Regions from separate parts of the Homo sapiens genome. Here regions 2 and 3 are each linked to region 1. The links are contacts of gene promoters, found by promoter capture Hi-C in blood cells and fetal thymus (Javierre and others, 2016). All regions are on one chromosome and are shown on one strand. The core of a region is centred on a gene start or on the middle of the fragment in contact, and the rest is flanking DNA. Distances in the headings are between cores, read along the strand shown. Region 1 holds the start of LINC00636 (long intergenic non-protein coding RNA 636). Region 2 overlaps HHLA2 (HHLA2 member of B7 family). Region 3 overlaps HHLA2 (HHLA2 member of B7 family).

Region 1 (2,866 bases), core at 363-2,862:
TAGGTGATTTTTGTATATGTCTTGGCTCTCTCTACTAGAATGATAACAACTTAAGAGCAGAAAAGATGTTTTTGTTCTCCAAAAATTACTTTGGGATAGAGCTGAGACACACAAAAAAAGAGGGTGCTGAATTTCTTATGTCAAATCAGGCAGCAAAGATGTAAGTTACAATATAGCTAGAGAATTCAGATTCCATCTATGGAAATCAAATAATACAAAGTTGAAAATGTAGGTAAAGATGAAACTTGACAGACACATGATAAATTGAGTTGTGAAACTAAATTGTATCCCAGTTGAGATCTACAAGCTTGGAGTGTGCCAGGGATGAAGCAACTAAAACCAGATTATAGGAGGAGACTTGGAAGGTATTATTTGGTGGCTTAGGAAGTACCATTCTTTAAGTAACACCTAGATAGTGTCCCCAGGCCACAGTCCCTACCCCAACCTGAGTTGGTAACCTTCTGATGATCCCAAGTTTTACACAAGTAACCACAGCAGGCCCTTGATGATGGTTACTTGGGTAACCATCCTCTTAGTTGGGTAACTAAGTGTCCAACTCCAGGAAGTATAGATTTAAGTGGAATTGATTTTTGCATGTGTAAGCTATTTTATAGTCATTGTGTTGCTTCATATATGCTTTATCTGCTTTAAGATGTTTGAAATGGATAAGAGAATCTGCTTTATTAAATTTGTCTAATTTATTAAATTTATTAGATTTTCACAAAGATTGCAAATATCTTGCATGTTAGACTTGTAAGTTTGCTTAATAGGTGTTTGAATTATTTGGGAGAACTGGTTTTCAAATTGGTAATAATTGTTTGAAATGTCTAAAAATATCTAGTTAATAAAGTTTCTATATACTGTTAACATTTGAGAGATCTGATCCATAAAATTTATAAACTAATTGAGCATTAATTAAATAACAAATGAAGTTAAGTGCTTAAAATTCTTACACCATTATTAGATTTGCAAATATAGCAACAAGATTTGTGAGTTAAAAGTAAAGGCTTATAAAAACTAAGTTATAAAATTTATACCTTTTGTCAGTTCAACATTAACACAATCATAAGAAACTATCAGCATTAACTTCTGTGCAAGAAAAAAAGTCACATTTTGGGAACTAAAAACCCAATTACCATTATTAAACACTGAAGAGCAATATAACTGAAATGGAGATGAATCATCATAGCTATCATTTATTAGTTCCAACCACATAACAGTTCTGTGATAAGCTCTGCATTTGTGAGTTTGTTCATTTGTTTGTTTTTGAAGGTCAGAGATAATATAACTAAAGTATCTTGCCTCTTAAGTATATGTTAAACTGAACTGACAATCTTTTTAAATCTAAAAATATTACTTCACATACCAATCACAGTTCCTTTGCTCACAGGTAACAGAAAATCGGTCTAACTGTTTAAATCATAATAACAGCAACAACAGTAATAATATAAAGATTTTGTGGTTCAAGTAATTTAAGAAACCCAGAAATGGAAGGAGGTGTACTACTTACTTGGATCTCCCTTCAAAAAAGAACAAACTATCCACGTGTGCAGGATGCCGGTAACTGACAGCCGCCAGCCAGTGGGCATTAAGGGTCCTCTACAGTGTTGAGTTGGAACAACAGTGTTGAGCTTTCTCGACAGCCCTGGCGAATAAGTACAGTGGGAGTACTAGTGTCTGGGCATTTCCGCCCATTGTCATACTCTTCCAACAAGCAGCTTTTGCTCTAGATCTCCCTTTGGTGCTGGCAGAGACTTTATGAAATCTGCATCACAGTTTGAGGCCCTTCCTGCCCAATCCTGCGGGGTTTCCCTTTGTTTTCACAGGTGTCAGGCCTGGATCAAGGTCTGAAGGGTTTTGCTGCCCATATATTTCCTGTGCCTTGCTTTTATCTTTCACAAACATTACCTCAATAAAGCTTGGACACTGGTAATTCCATCTCCATATCTGCTTACCAGATGACCCTTCAGGTAAGCTTGCTCCAGCAGTTTAATGATGTCCCAGGACCGACTTCCTTTCTGTGTCTCAGCCTTCCCCAGTGGCAGAATAGCCCTAAAACTATTTTGATAGCTTCACCATATCAACATAGTTACCAGAACAACTGGGGTGGTTGCTTCCTGATTCACAACCAGTGGATGAAGGGAGCATCTTTTTTTAGCATCCATGAAAGACAGAATAATTTTATTCTCCAGATGCTCCCCATCAAACATCTTCTCTCTTTTTGACAAAGTTTGGATCATAATGCCATCCCAACCACTGTAACTAGGGCCCATCCCTGGAGCTGCTGTGAGATTAGTCCCAACCAATCTGCATGTCCCCATCAGAAAGGGAACAGAGAGAATGAATGCTGGGGAGGCAATCACTAAATTTCCATGACTACGAACATAAGCATCCTCAAACAATATCACACCACGGAATTAGTCTCATGAAGACACCGCTGCTACTAACAATGTGTATAGAAATTGGAGCATAAACCACTAAGAATACAGGCTGTAGAGGCCAGAAACCATTGGAACTGCACCGCTGCAGTTTCTGGAAGCTGAATGTCCTGTTGCTTCTGTTCCCGGTGTTGCCAGAGTAGACTCTGTAGAGTTCTTCCTTCTTCAAGTCACTGTATTTAATTCAAACACGAGCTGGTGCATCCTGCAGGCAGAGCCTACAGCTTGAGCCAATGTACTGGTTTCAGGAGAAGCAAGGGAGAAACTGTCTATTTCATCCCAGAGTGGGAGAATGTCACCTGTGGCATCACATGCAGAAGATTCCAGATTCTGGATTCTTTTGCGTTTGCTTTAGTTCTGCTAAAGTCTCCTGTGTATGATCCTCAGAAAGACATATGAGGGTTTTCCTCAGAACCTAAATTCTGTGA
Region 2 (3,337 bases), core at 51-2,550, 440 kb before region 1:
CCTAGGAGTGCTTGATTGCCTGGCAAACCAGGTGGTTATCTTGTGGGCTTTTGTTTTGTGTTGATTCATTTAGCTATGTTTTGTGCACTTCTCTGTATTTATTCTATTTTCACAAAAATATTAAAAGTATAAGGAAGATCTAAATGTGCTGATACAGTCAAATCTTCAGAAATGTACAGTTAATAAAATAAGGCATGGAACAGCAAAAATGCTCTTGTTATATGAAAAAAGCTTACATATTCATATATATGCTTGTATTCACATAAATAATTTCTCAAAACGTATGTAATAATAAATTTAATGTAGTCCACTGCCTCTGAGAGGGGAGACTAGGACTCTGGTATTTATGAGAAGGGGCTAATTTTTATCTGTATGCTTTTACTGTGAAAATAACCTTTGAATTACATTTAATAATAAATAGATTCACCAACCTGTGAATTAACTATTAAGACAAAGTAGGGTTACCATTTGATGAAATCATTGTTTTCTAACAAAGGAGTGCATTTTGAAATCTTAAGTCTGGCATTTTTAACCAAAAATTGTAAATCACTGCTAAATTTGTTCAAAAGATGGGTTGAATTTTCACAAGCAATAAGAAAAGAAAAGTGGCTTTTATTTTAAATGGATACCCATGAAGTGATTATCTTTCAATTTCCCTTACATAAGTGGAGTGGAGATAGGTATAGATAATTCATTTTCATTTCAGTTCCCTTCTAGAACATTGTGATGTTTTCCATCTGCATTACAATAGAGCACTACTAAAAAATGGAAGCAAATTTAGGGTAAACCAAATGGCTAAATGTGAGAATCTGCCACAAATCATGAAATTGTCCTTTAGGCTTTTAGTTATATGAACAAGTAGTTTAGACCAGAATCCAATAATATGAATAATCTCAGTTGTCAAAGCAATTAGAACATAGTACGGATTTCAGGGAAATCCATTTACTAAATAAATGAGAAAAGCACCCATTGTTGACAAGGTGTGAAGAGATGAGCCCACTCAGGATTTCTGGGTAAAGACAGCAGCTTAAATACATGTTTATAATTTTGTTTCTTATCTCCTTAACTCAATAAAAATTTAGGGAAGGGATTTTTCTTTTCAAATTTTTTAAATTTTTATGGGTACACAGTAGGTATATATATTTATGGGGTACATGAGAAGTTTTGATACAGGCATGCATGTGAAATAAGCACATCATGGAGAATAGGGGTATCCATCCCCTCAAGCAATTATCCTTTGAGTTAAAAACAATCCAATTATACTCTTTCAGTTACTTAAAATTGTACAATTAAGTTATTGACTATAGCCGCCCTGTTGTGTTACCAAATAGTAGGTCTTATTCATTCTTTCTATTCCATTAACCATCCCCACCTCACTGCCCCCCAACCACAGACCCCCCCACTATGGGAAGGATTGTTTTTGTTTTTTAAGAAATGGATAAAGCAGAAAAAGAGGTGAGGTCAAAACAAACAAACAAACAAACAAAAAAGTCAGCAAAAATTTGGAAACTAGAGAAAAATGGGCAAGTAGTAACTGACTTAGTAAACCCAAGAAAATGAATCTGTAGTTAATGGGAAAATGTGAAAGTCCACCAACTTGTACCATATAGTACTCAAAAGACATAGGAACTGCTTTGGAACTGGTAATGGAAAAAAAAGAAAAAGACTAAGATAAGAAAACCTCATAGGAAAGCTATTTCTTACAGCCATCCAATGCAGGTGGGATGAACCCCTCCCAATTAATAGGTGAGACGTCCTGACTGATGACGCCATGTACACACCAAGAGGTGAGAACACATTGTATTACATCATGGAACTTTCTAAACATAGTGGGACAACACCCAGGCTAGTCTGGAATGAGCTTGAGAACGTTTCGAAAGCAAGAATGAGAATAAGTAGACTTGGTTTTTATCATAGATAGGCGGTTGGATGAGGGAAAATCCACTCCCCCACATAGGTTGAACTTTCTGCTGTGTCCAGGGGGCAGCACCAGCTTTCTTACCAACTTGCTCAAATATGAGGCAGAAGAGGAAAGAGGAGGTGGGCATGAAAGCTCTCAGCAGTCAAAGATAAAAATGGAGTCAGACTCTTAAACGATTTAAGAAGTTAAACCCCCTAGATTCTCTCCTGCACTCCACTTTACTGAACAATTGCCCCTTTCTTTGGAGAAATCCATGGAGAAACAAAGCATAATAATGTCTGAATTGATGGTCCAGGCACAGATTAGAGTTAAGGTAGAGGTTAAGACTAATTTATCAAACAGATATCTAATGCTGAACACAGAGACCCAGCCTGTATCACCCTCCAGTGACTTCCGCCTGAGAGGCATGGCCCACAGTCCGAGCTCTTAGAGCCTCCAATAAGCTTCCCTCATTCTTAATGTTAAGCAGACATTGAGGGATTACCAGATACCCTGAGGAAAGCTGTCACAGAAGACAGAAATAAATGAAACCAACCTCCCTTACAAAAAGACATCCTGGAGTAAATAAAAATATGCAAGCAAGCGAGGGTGAAAATCAACAAAAACAAATGAAATAAAACTATAACTAACATCTTCAGAGAGATAAGAAAAAGTTACATTCATAAAAAAGGAACAGAATGGCATAAGAAATTAACAGAAAAGACATCTTGGAATTGAGAACATAAGAGCAGAAGTCATTAACAGGGTTAGAAAATAAAGTAGAGACTGTCTCCTAGACAGTAAATAGACACAGAGGCAGAAAATAAGCAAAAAAGATTTTTAAAATCAGGTGACAACTCTAAAAAATCTAGAGAAAAAGAGAAAACAGGAAACAGGGTAGAAAACAAAAGTATTTAAGAAAATTTTCCAGAATAATAAATGAATTGCTATTACTGAAAAAAAGCTTACTGAATAAAAGTGGTGGATGAAAGCATTCACACAAAGATACTCCATTTTGAAATTTCAGAAAACTAGGGAAAAAGAAGAGTCCATCAACTTCCAGGAGAAAAAAGCTAATAGAAAGGGCCAGGAATCATAGTGGCTTCAGACTTTGCAACAGCATGACTTGCCAGCAAAAAGAAAACGCAACCACATCCAGAATTCTAAAGAAAAATTACTTGTAACTTGCAAGTATGGTCAAACTCCCAAACGGGAGGGCAGAATGACATTTTCAGACATGCACTATCTCAAAAACAAAATAAATGTATTACCCATCCTCTCTTTTCAAGAAGCTATGGGAAAATGTGCTCCACCAAAATAAGAGTATAAACCAATAAAGACGACAACGTGATACAGAAAATTAGTTCAAAATAGAAGAGGAGTCAAGGGATTCCTAGGAGGATGGTGAACAGACATTCCAAAATGCTAGCTGGAATC
Region 3 (3,139 bases), core at 113-2,612, 470 kb before region 1:
TCTCCTGGAATGTCCTACTACTCTTCTAAAATTCTACCCTTATGCAACTTTCTTAAGCACATATTCTGTGACAACCCCATTCATGTCCAACCACAGAGAATAGAATTAATCACTCCCTTTGTAAGCTATGTTCCTAGTTTAATTTTTATATTTGTACTAGATGCTGTGGATCCAGAAATCAGTAGAGACCATGTTCTTAAGTTCACAGTCTGTGAGCAACAAAACTTGGCACGTAATAGCTTTTCAATGAGACCAAACAGTACTGAGCCTAAAGAACTGTTCATGCTTCAAGACACTCAATTCTAAATGAACATGAGAAATTAGGATTTTCCAAAGGCAATATTTATAATATTAACATTTGCAACCCTTTCCCATGTTTCCATTGCTGCCTGACTGATGGAGAATGAACATTGGGTACTCATGCCTTTAACACTGGACTCATGTAAATGTGGTGAATCACCCACAATTTCAGTATATTTTTGGTGAGCATTTTGAGAATATGAGATGCTAGGAAAGAGAAGACTGAAAAAAAAAGATAACCTCCATTTTCCCCCTATAAGGGAGACTGACAGAAAATTTTTGCTTTGTTACTAATAAAATGAAAAACAGGCTGGGCACGGTGGCTCACGCCTGTAATCCTAGCACTTTGGGAGGCCGATATGGGTGGATCACGAGGTCAGAAGTTCGAGACCAGCCTGACCAACATGGTGAAACCCTGTCTCTACTAAAAAAATACAAAAATTAGCCACATGTGGTGGCATGTGCCTGTAATCCCAGCTACTCAGGAGGCTGAGACAGGAGAATCACTTGAAACTGGGAGGTGGAGGTTGCATTGAGCTGAGATCATGCCACTGTACTCCAGCCTGGGCGACAGAGGGAGACTCCATCTCAAAAAAAAAAAAAAAAAAGGAAAACAAATTTTCTTGGACTTGGATATGGAGATAGCAAATTACTTTTTATTAAACAGGTTTTGGATATAGAGATTGATCAGAGTTTGGATCTGTTCAAATAAATGAGAGGAACGAGCGCTAAAAACTGACCATGTTGTGATAGAGGTGTTGGATAAAGATTGATGGGCTAATACTATGTAAAGAAACTAAAAAGAAGCAATAATACTCATTAATATTTTGTTTAATTGTAAGATTGGAAGTTGTGATCTGCTGAAAGACAAGTATTCTTTCTCCTTTGATCTTTTAAAGAGCAATGCTGGTAGAAAATCCTGTTTGAAGGATGAGCCATTGACAAATACATTAATATTCAAGAATAGATTTGCTTCTTTCCACTTCATGAATGTTTTCACTCAACTCATAAATACATAGCAAGGTAAGAATTACTTCTATTTTATCAATGAGGTACTAATGCTCAAAAGTAAGAATGATTGCTTAATGTAATACAGCCAGAAGAACCAGCCCTAGGGCTTCGGTCTTGGTCTTCTAACCGCTGCAGATGGATTTGCTTTCTTTTCTTTCATCTTCCTTTCTTTTTTTGCAAATCAGTCCCCATTACCCCCCAACTTTGAAACAGCACGTGTACACAGAAAGTCCTGTGGAGCCTACCTTTCATCGTCCAGCGCCCTGTCCATGTTTGCTTCAGCAGTGAATTTTCAATTGTACATTCATAAGATGAATTTGATCCTGTAATATTCAGTGGGCTGTTAATAGAAAAAGAATCCAAAGACCCTGTTTCTTCCATGTTGTTTTCAGAGATAGGTGTGTTGTCCATTTTCCACGTGATAATTGGACGAGGATAAACACTTAACACGCTGCATATTAAGAAGCTGTTTGTGTTCCTCTTTTCATACTTCATCACGGGTGTGAGAAAAACTACATAGGAGAAAGAAGGGCGCATGAAAAACTGCCATCATTAGCTTCTTTATAGGCCGTCTGTGCAGAATACTTTTTAATATCCATGAAATGAAAAGCTAAATTTTATGAGCAAAACTTGGCAGTTACTGAAAGGGAAAACAAACCAACAAACACACACCTCTGTAGAACCTTAAGATATAGTGTGGTTATCTAGAAGAAATAAAAAAAGAGCAGGCATGGGTATGTGGCAACTAGCAATCTCAATTTTCTAGAAACATAGCTGGAAAAGAAATCTAATGGCCTCATTGAAAAACCAAAATGAGGATGTCTAAGTCTATAAAGTAGAGTTCATGCGGCACTCTACACTCCTCAAATACTGACTCAGAGCACCTATTTGACTGTTTACACATAATTTTGTGATTTCTGAATCAAGGTCTGAAGCAGCTAAAAGGGACAGAAGAAAAAGAAACAAGTGCTGGGAAAAACAACCCATTAGAAAATACTGCATGTATGTGTGTGTGTGTATATATATCTATATGTAAGATTGTTCTATATATTATAATGCATACTAACTATATTGCATATAAATGATCAGCAGCCTGATCATTAACAGAGCACATCATCAGGAACTCTTGGTAATCCGGTAATTAGGAGCCATGAAGCTCTTTGAATTTCTTCAGTTTTAATCTAATACCTGTTTGGTTCAATGTAACTATGAGAATTAGCAACAGTTAATATATTAATACAGTTAATATATTATATAGTTATATTAACTGTATAATATAACCACCATGAAGCTCTGTCTGAGTGATATTAACTGTATATAACTGTATGTATTAACTATATTAATGGCTTATAGTTATATAGGTATAGTGTTATATATAGCTAATACAGAGAAGGAAAGCATATAATATAAAATTAACCTCATTTATAATATAGAAAAATGCAATTTAAATCAGCAATTCAATATTTTTTCAGTCATGATATTGGCAGTTATTTGGTACTGATAAGACTAAGGGGAAAGTGGATAGTCTTATGCTGCTAGTATCAGTAACCCATTTAAATCTTCTGGTACTTTGCTTTCAGATTATTTCCCAGTATTAAGTACAATTATAAGGATGTTCATCACAACCATGTAATGTAAAACACTGGAAATGCCTGAATACCCACCAACAGGGGAACAGTTGTATCATTTATAACATTAGTATACTACAAGTTGCTGTGCGTTAAAAATAAGTAGATTTCCATGTATTGACTTGGAAGGAAGCTCATGGCATATTAGGAAAAAGACGCTTACTAATAACATGGAATGATGTCATTGCTGTTTCATGAAA

The links. Contacts are between HindIII fragments. The CHiCAGO score rates a contact against its expected background, and 5 or more counts as called.
Region 2: a contact is called between a fragment that was not itself captured here and the fragment with the promoter of LINC00636 in region 1, in 1 of 17 cell types (M2 macrophages). The highest score is 5.6, in M2 macrophages.
Region 3: a fragment that was not itself captured here is called in contact with the fragment with the promoter of LINC00636 in region 1 in 1 of 17 cell types (naive B cells); the score reaches 5.1 in naive B cells.

The regions. Positions count from the first base shown.
Region 1 is chr3:107,881,951-107,884,816 of GRCh38, reverse strand. LINC00636 (long intergenic non-protein coding RNA 636) reads right to left here and starts at 1,612. Exons shown (of 3, transcript NR_015394.1): 1 at 1,511-1,612. The HindIII fragment of the contact is 1,611 bases long and covers 310-1,920 here.
Region 2 is chr3:108,321,195-108,324,531 of GRCh38, reverse strand. The region is part of intron 2 of HHLA2 (HHLA2 member of B7 family); the gene reads right to left. Among named protein-coding and RNA genes, the nearest start is that of HHLA2, 26 kb to the right of the region's middle. The HindIII fragment of the contact is 2,133 bases long and covers 234-2,366 here.
Region 3 is chr3:108,353,799-108,356,937 of GRCh38, reverse strand. HHLA2 (HHLA2 member of B7 family) reads right to left here. Exons shown (of 10, transcript NM_001282556.2): 5 at 1,557-1,823. Among named protein-coding and RNA genes, the nearest start is that of HHLA2, 59 kb to the right of the region's middle. The HindIII fragment of the contact is 6,821 bases long and covers 1-3,139 here.